Regions from separate parts of the Homo sapiens genome. Here region 2 is linked to region 1. The links are contacts of gene promoters, found by promoter capture Hi-C in blood cells and fetal thymus (Javierre and others, 2016). All regions are on one chromosome and are shown on one strand. Each heading gives the region's core, a stretch centred on a gene start or on the middle of the fragment in contact. The rest is flanking DNA. Distances are from core to core; before and after follow the strand shown.

Evidence for each region. Contacts are between HindIII fragments. The CHiCAGO score rates a contact against its expected background, and 5 or more counts as called.
Region 2: a contact is called between a fragment that was not itself captured here and the fragment with the promoter of SMU1 in region 1, in 6 of 17 cell types (naive B cells, non-activated CD4 T cells, fetal thymus and 3 more). The highest score is 6.6, in naive B cells.

What each region holds. Positions count from the first base shown.
Region 1 is chr9:33,075,381-33,078,973 of GRCh38, forward strand. It overlaps SMU1 (SMU1 DNA replication regulator and spliceosomal factor), which reads right to left and starts at 1,294. Exons shown (of 12, transcript NM_018225.3): 1 at 1,203-1,294. The coding sequence starts at 1,228. RefSeq lists enhancers at 1,156-1,305, 1,476-1,675. The HindIII fragment of the contact is 3,581 bases long and covers 251-3,593 here.
Region 2 is chr9:33,468,220-33,472,423 of GRCh38, forward strand. It overlaps NOL6 (nucleolar protein 6), which reads right to left. Exons shown (of 26, transcript NM_022917.5): 2 at 3,987-4,193; 3 at 3,785-3,901; 4 at 1,793-1,972; 5 at 1,280-1,448; 6 at 988-1,122; 7 at 739-902; 8 at 533-653; 9 at 289-347; 10 at 102-203. Among named protein-coding and RNA genes, the nearest start is that of MIR6851, 2.4 kb to the left of the region's middle. The HindIII fragment of the contact is 4,549 bases long and covers 1-3,654 here.

The DNA of each region.
Region 1 (3,593 bases), core at 44-2,543:
AAAAAAAAGGGAACTGATTGCTGCTACCTGCAGTAGTCTTTTTCTCTCATGGCCCCTTTATGAGGTATGCAGGTATCCAGACTTAGACCCCTGTTATTCTGCTATGATACTATCTTCCTTAGCACATGTCCGTTGACTTCCATTTTACACTCCCAAAATAAGTCATCTCTCTCCTCAAACAGCTCACATTTGACATAGCCAAAATCAAATTCCCTACCTTCAAACAGAAATGAATACATAAAGAGCTAGAAGCTTTGAAGATAGTCTGGGATTTGAATCAAAGTTATGTGACCTTGGACAAGTAGGTTAACATCATTTCAGTATTTGCTGAATGCATAAACCTCCCTTCCTCCTATGAAAAGTCTCCAAAAAAGGTCCTCTCCCTCCCTTACACTCAGACACAATTTTTATGTCTGTTAATTTAATTATTATTAAGTGTTGGCAAGGACAGGTGGAGGATGGAGTTCTGGAAAAGCACACTAAGGTCTTCTTTAGTCACTAATTCTCATCCCCTATTCCTTGAAAATTTTTCTTTCTAGCCCAGTCTCCAGTCTGTCTCTCCCCAGACAACCCAAAATTCCGTGCCAGATCGGGCCTGATAGTTGTTCATTCATTCCAAAAGCTAGTTGTTCATTCATTCCAAAAGCAATTAACTCTTCCTCTAAGGTATGCTAGACACTGAGACCACAAGGAAAAGGAGCTCCTAGGCACCGACAAAGGCTAGTTTGGGGTGAGGTTATCAAACAGTGACAATACTGAGTGATAAACGCTAGGCAGAGAAAAGCAAAGGGGCCGTATAAGCAGAGACAACGAATCACATTGCATAAGCTGGACAGGGAGAGAAGCAAGGCTTAAAGAGACCTATCCCCTTGCGCAGATAATTAGACTGGAGTCCAGAGTGGATCCTTAATTTGGTCAATCACAGCGCGCCAGCAGTCGGCCAAGGACAGAACTTAGGTCTGCAAGGTGTGTTTTCCCCACCCGTGCCACCTCCCTCGAGGTTTTGGGCTTCACGTCTGAGAGCTGCTACTTTCCTGTGGGCCCACCTCCGAGGTAGCGAGATCCAAGATGCTTCTTTGGGGGCAAGGAAATGGCCCTCCACTCCCTGGCCTCTCGGATGCCTTCTCCCGAGTACCCTCCGCCCCACACCCTTAACCTCCAGGCCCCCGGCAAGGCGCGAACATCCCCACCGCAGGACTCACTCCGAAGATTCGATTTCGATCGACATAGCCGTATCTCTCCGGGAGCAGGCCCCAGCTCTCCCTCAAGGCCAGTCGCGCAACACACCAACGACACCTCCGGCGGACACCTAACGTCACTTCCGCTTGGGTCGGCGTCTGGCTCCCGCTCTGGAGATAGAGTGAACGAAGAGTAGGGGCGAGGTTCGCGTAGGGGCGGAGCCCTCAGGGGCTGTCAGAGGGCGGAGTTTATGCCCCTGCCCCAGAGAAATACGCATCAGGAGGAAGACTGTTTAAAAGCAGGCCGGAGCCGGGTGCGGTGGCTCACGCTTGTAATCCCAACACTTTGGAAGGCCGAGGCGGGCGATCACCTGAGGTCGTGAGTTCGAGACCAGCCTGACCAACATGGAGAAACCCCCGTCTCTACTAAAAATACAAAATTAGCCGGGCGTAGTGGCGCATGCCTGTAATCCCTACTCGGGAGCCTGAGGCAGGAGAATCGCTTGAACCCAGGAGGCGGAGGTTGCGGTGAGCCGAGATCGCGCCATTGCACCCCAGCATGGAAAACAAGAGCGCAACTCCGTCTCAAAAAAAAAAAAAAAAAAAAAAGAAAGATAGAAAAGAAAAAGAAAAAAAGCACCGGGCGCCATACAGCTCACAAATGTACTGAAAAAGAAAAGCGCTGGGGCGGAGCGCGGTGGCTCGCGCCTGTACTCCCAGCGCGCGAGTTCGAGACCAGCCTGGGCAACATGGTGAAGCCCCGTCTCTACTAAAAATACAAAAAATTAGCCGGGCGTGGTGGCGGGGGCGCCTGTAATCTCAGCTACTCGGGAGTCTGTGGCAGGAGAATCGTTTCACCTCTGGAGGTGGATGCGGTGAGCCGAGATCACACCATTGCACTCCAGCCTGGGCAAGGAGAGCAAAATTCCGTCTCAAAAGAAGAAAAGAAAAGTAGTGGTGATAAGATTGTAGTAAGAAAAGCAAAGAAAAGAAAGAAGAAAAGAAAGAAAAGAAAAGAAAGAAAAGAAAGAGCACTGGTTTGGAAAGATTGCTTTTTTTTTGAGACGGAATCTCGCACTGTCGCCCGGGCTGAAGAGCACAATGGCGCGATCTCGGCTCACTGCAAACTCTGCCTCCCGGGTTCAGGAGATTCTCTTGCCTCAGCCTCCGGAGTAGCTGGGATTACAGGTTTCTTGCCATCACGCCAGGCTAATTTTTTGTATTTTTAGTAGAGATGGGATTTCACTATGTTGGTCAGGCTGTTCTCGAACTCCTGACCTCGTGATCCGCCCGCCTCGGTCTCCCAAAGTGCTGGGATTACAGGCGTGAGTCACTGCGCCCAGCCAATGTTGCTTTCGTTTGATGTAATTAGTTGATTAGATTTAAGATGAGGCTGAATATGCAATACCTGATGGGATATTAATACATTCAAAACCAACATAACACTAGCCAAAATTTATAGGAAGAGTTAATTGAGGATTTTGGTTGGTTGGTTGGTTTTGCGTTTTTTTGAATCAAGGACTCGCTTTGTTGCCCATGCTGGAGTGCAGTGTCTCGATCGTGGCACACTGCAGCCTCGACCCCTCCAGCTCAAGCAATCCTCCCACCTCAGCCACCCAAAGTGCTGGGATTACTGGCATGAGCCACCACGCCCTGTCACGGGACTTTAGGTCAAACACATTATTACATTTGTAGTGACAAATGAAATGTAGAGATATCAGTGAACTTCATACATAAAACCTATTTTTAAATATTTTATTGCTGTTGTATATAAATTGTAAAAATTATTTGCAGCACAGTAATAATAAATCTGGCCAGGCGTGGTGGCTCACGCCTGTAATCTCAGCACTTTGGGAGGCTGAGGCGGGTGGATCACCTGAGTTCAGGAGTTGGAGACCAGCCTGGCCAACATGGTGAAACCCCGTCTCTACTAAAAATAAGAAAATTTGCCAGGCAGATAGGTGTGCATCTGTAATCCCAGCTACTCGGGAGACTGAGGCAGGAGAATCCCTTGAACCCGGGAGGCAGAGGTTGCAGTGAGGAGAGATCGAACCACTGCACTCCACCCTGGGTGACCGAGTGACCAAAAAATAATAAATAAATAAATAAATAAAATAAATCTGTGTTCCGAAATTACATATTGAAATGATGTATTTGTAGATTTCCTGATGGCTTTCAGTCTTATCTGATTCTGTGCCTAAAGGTCTGCCATACAACTTGTCCATAACCTCTTAAATACTGCTTCTTTTGTCAAATCATCCTCTATTTCCTATCAATTCTTGAAGGACATGGTCTCCAAGGTTTCAAATGTTTTAGAGTCTCCATGCTTGCCTTGACATGTAGTGAGATATCAACATGGGTTATATGGTTTATGAGATACTCCTTCACTATTCTATCCCATAACAGCACAAAATT
Region 2 (4,204 bases), core at 130-2,629, 390 kb after region 1:
TTAACTCTTTGAAGAGGAGTTTCTGGGGTTCTGGTACTTGCAAAAGGGACAGAGTCTGGGCTGAGACATCAGGGGAACACAGATTGGGGGCCCATTGGTACCTGGTGGTAAGTAGAGGCAGTGACATCAGCACAGAGGTTGAGATGGCCTGAGGAATCCAGGAAGACAACGGAGAAGGCCTGGTGGAAGTCAGCCAGGGCCGGCTTGGGGGGTGTAGAGAGAAGCAGGTCAGGATTGGCACCTTACTTGCAGGCCTCCTGGCATAGACCTGGCCCTTCCCCAACTCACCAAAGAGGGATCTGAGCTGAGACATAAACTGATCCCGTTGACTGTCAGGTCTGTAGTGGCTGAAGTGAATCACAAGTGTATTAGAAGGTATCCCCTTCTGGGGACCCAGCCCTAATGACACCCTCCCTCAGCCGATTCAGTTTGCTCATCTGTCTGATGGCAAAACACCAAAAGACTGCTACTGGGATGAGAGGATTCCCAGGAGGAGTGGAGCCCCTGGCCTTTCCCCACCTAGTTGCCTCACCCAGAAACTGCAAGACACTTCTCAGGACCTGGTAGCCACTCATGGTGGTATGGATCTTGCGTGTAGACACAAGGAAGACAACCAGCATGGAGACAAGGAACCCAGTAAACCCACCCTGGCCCTGAAAGAGACAGGGAGAGGCTGAGGTCAGAGCCTGCCCATCACACAGGCGCTCAGGTAGGGAGGCTGCGCCACCCCCAACTCACCTTGTCCAGCTCCCGCTGCCGCAGCCAGACCTTCAGAAGTGCCACGCCATCCTTCAGGCCCTGGGCTGAACTCAGAATGGTTGACAGCAGCTGCAAATGGGACTCGAGAACTGTATCTTGCAGGACCCATGTGTTATAGCGGGGGGTAGGAGGCTCTGGGCTACCTGTGGGATGAAAAGGGAAGCCATGAGAGGAAAAGTCCCCACACCTCTTCCCTCCAGCTCCACCTCAACACCAGGGCCTGCTCACCATCCCCTGCAGGACTCTGCCCTCGGTACCAGGCAGAGCGCACATTGTTCTTGGTTGGCAGCAAGCGGCACGGGCGGAAGAAGTCAGGTGGAGGGCACGGATGCAGACGTACAGTGACCAGGCGCTCATCCTTTCCTGCCAGAGACAGTGAGTGCTGAGACTCTGCAGGAGCCCTTGGAGCCAGAGGGCTCCCCATCCTGTCCCCCCATACTTGAGGCCTCCGTGCCTCTGTGCCTTCTCCTCCAGATTTACCATCCCATGCTATGCCCTCAGCCCAATGTGTGCCTCTCACCACGCGGCCGCAGCAACAGTGAGGGTTTCAGGTGGCAGCCATTTGTGTAGGAGAAGCAAACACTGCCAAAGAGGGGGTCCTGGGCCAGGTGGTGAGCCAAGTGGGCCAGGTAGAGGGCACGCTTGCGGAAGTAGCGCTGGTTCAGCCCGTCCTTGTCCTGTAGGATTTCCTGGAGGGGCCAGGGGAGAAGAGAAGGCCAGGCACATAAGTGCTTGTGGAGCTGTGGGCCAAGGTGAAACCAAGGTGAGAGAGCCAGGGCTCCTCTGCTGACAGAAGTGCCTGAGCCACGGTTAGCAACACTAGGCCCAGTTCTCATATCTGGAGAGCAAAGCTCCAAAAGGACAGCAACTGGCCCGAGGGATCTAAGCTGCCTTCAGGATGCCTGCAATGGTCTGCTCTTCTGATTTAGAATTCTGACTTCAATCCCCTGGCAAGCGGCAGATAAGAAAGAGGGATCCAGGATTTGTAGGTAGTCAGGTGGTGGGCCTCTATCCCCTAAACCCTGGACCTTACCCTGGGCATGGTCAGTGCCACATCCACATTGATGTCTGGTCGGATGCAGGTGCCCAGAAGGTAGCTGCCCACAACAGTAACCTGGGCTGGGGGCAGGAAGCGGAAACAGCCCTTCACGGCATAGGGCACTTGGTGGAGGGGCACTCGAACCCCAGCTGGGAGCCATGCCTGGTCAGTGAGCTGTGGGGGCAGAGACAGGGACACATACTGATTCAACTGCCTTCCTCACATGTACCCTTTATGTCTAGAAGACATTTTAACACATCGATATGTTTGAAACCAAACTCCCAATCTTCCCATAACTATGTCTTCCTTGCTAAGACAACTCCATATGAGTTGCTCAAGCCAAAACCACTTAAATCACCTTAACTTAGCTCTGTTAAGAATACCCATTTTACGAGCCGGGCGTGGTGGCTCACGCCTGTAATCCCAGCACTTTGGGAGGCCGAGGTGGGCGGATCACGAGGTCAGAAGATCGAGACCATCCTGGCTAACACGGTGAAACCCCGTCTCTACAAAAATAATTAGCCGGGCATGGCGGCGTGCGCCTGTAGTCCCAGCTGCTGGGGAGGCTGAGGCAGAAGAATGGCGTGAACCCGGAAGGCGGAGCATGCAGTGAGCCGAGATCGCACCACTGCACTACAGCCTGGGGAACAGAGCAAGACTCTGTCTCAAAAAAAAAAAGAATACCCATTTTACTACCAAAATGTATTCAGAAATGGATCACTTCTCTAAAAAGAAAACTTTTTTAAAACAGAGAGAGGAAAAGATTTAAAAAAAAAAAAAAAAAAGAAAGAAATGGATCACTTCACTACTTTCCTCCCTAGTTTGAGGAGCCACCATTTCTCAGTGCCTAGACTAGTTCCTAACTGGTCTCTCTAATCTCATCATTGTCCCTCTCGATTCTACTTTTGACACAACAGCCGGAGTAAATTTTTCTAAAACTAAACTTTTTAAGGCTGGAAAAGTGAACGTTTTAGGCTGGGCACGGTGGCTCACACCTGTAATCCCAGCACTTTGGAAGGCCAAGGAGAGCAAATTACCTGAGGTCAGGAGTTCAAAACTAACCTGGCCAACATGGTGAAACCCCCTCTCTACTAAAAATACCAAAAAAATTAGCCGGGTGTGATAATCCCAGCTACTCGGGAGGCTGAGGCAGGAGAATAGCTTGAACCCGAGAGGTGGAGGCTGCAGTGAACTGAGATCGCGCCATTGCACTCCAGTGTGGAGGACAAGAGCGAGACTTCGTCTCAAAAACAAAAACAAAAACGTGAACTTTTAAAAGTTAGAGGGCATCACTGTTCTGCAAAATAAAATCCAGCAGTGGCTCCCCATCTCACCCAGAGCAACAGCCAAAGTCCCTACTTCGGGACACAATGCCCTGCATGATATGCTACTTTTCCCCATCACCTTTCTGAACTCATCTCCTTCTGTATTCCTCATTCATTCCAAGGAATGTAACTGGAACATTCCTGCCTTTGTGCCTTTGTACTGGCTGTTCCCCCTTCCTGGAATGCTTTTATTCCCTTAGATATCTATATAGCTGACTCACCTACTTCAAGTCTTTACACAAATGTCACTTCAATAAGGCCTACTTTGTGAACACCCCCTTTAAACTTGTAAACCACTCCCATCCTCTAATACTCCCAATCCCCTTACATTGCTCGTCCTACTTTTTCCTTTTTCCAGTGTTTACCACATTCTAACATTGCCATAGAGTTTACCTGTTATGCTTATCTATTAACTATAACCTCAGCATTACAGCATAGGCTATTATTTACTGATATATCCTAAGAACACAAATACTGCAAGGCATGGAAGTACTTGCTGAATGAATACACAAATGACCACGCTCCCAGCTAAGCTTCCTTGCTGTGAGAATGAGCTCCCTGCACCCCAACCCTTAAACAGAGTAACAGCAAGGCCCCTGTTTGATATACCCCCACTGGAGGTCTCTCTTGGGCTTCCCAGTTCCCCAGGCCACTTGCTTACCTCTGTCTCAGGGACTGAGGGCACCCTCACAACCCGCTGGTTGACCTCCCGTAGGAAGGCATCAATCCGATCCTTCTTCTTCTCTGACAGCCTTACTTCCTTTAGTAGCTCCTCTACCTGTAAGAGAGGGTAGAAGACAGTCCATCAGCCTCAGGGTCCCAGGTACACACCTCGAACAAAAGCTGCAGACACTCAACAGTACCTGTAAACGAAGCAAGCTGGAGTGGAACAAGATCTCAGTCTCCCGAAGGCGATTAAGCTCCTCATTGGTAGGCTCCTTGTACAGTTCTGCCCTGCTGAGCTTCACTGGCTGCAGGAGGCCCTTCGCTGGAGGTTCAGCCAATGTACGCTTCCTGGAGGATGCTTTCTTCCCCTCTTTGCCTGTGCCTTCCAGGGCTGGTTCCATCACCTGTGGCCAGT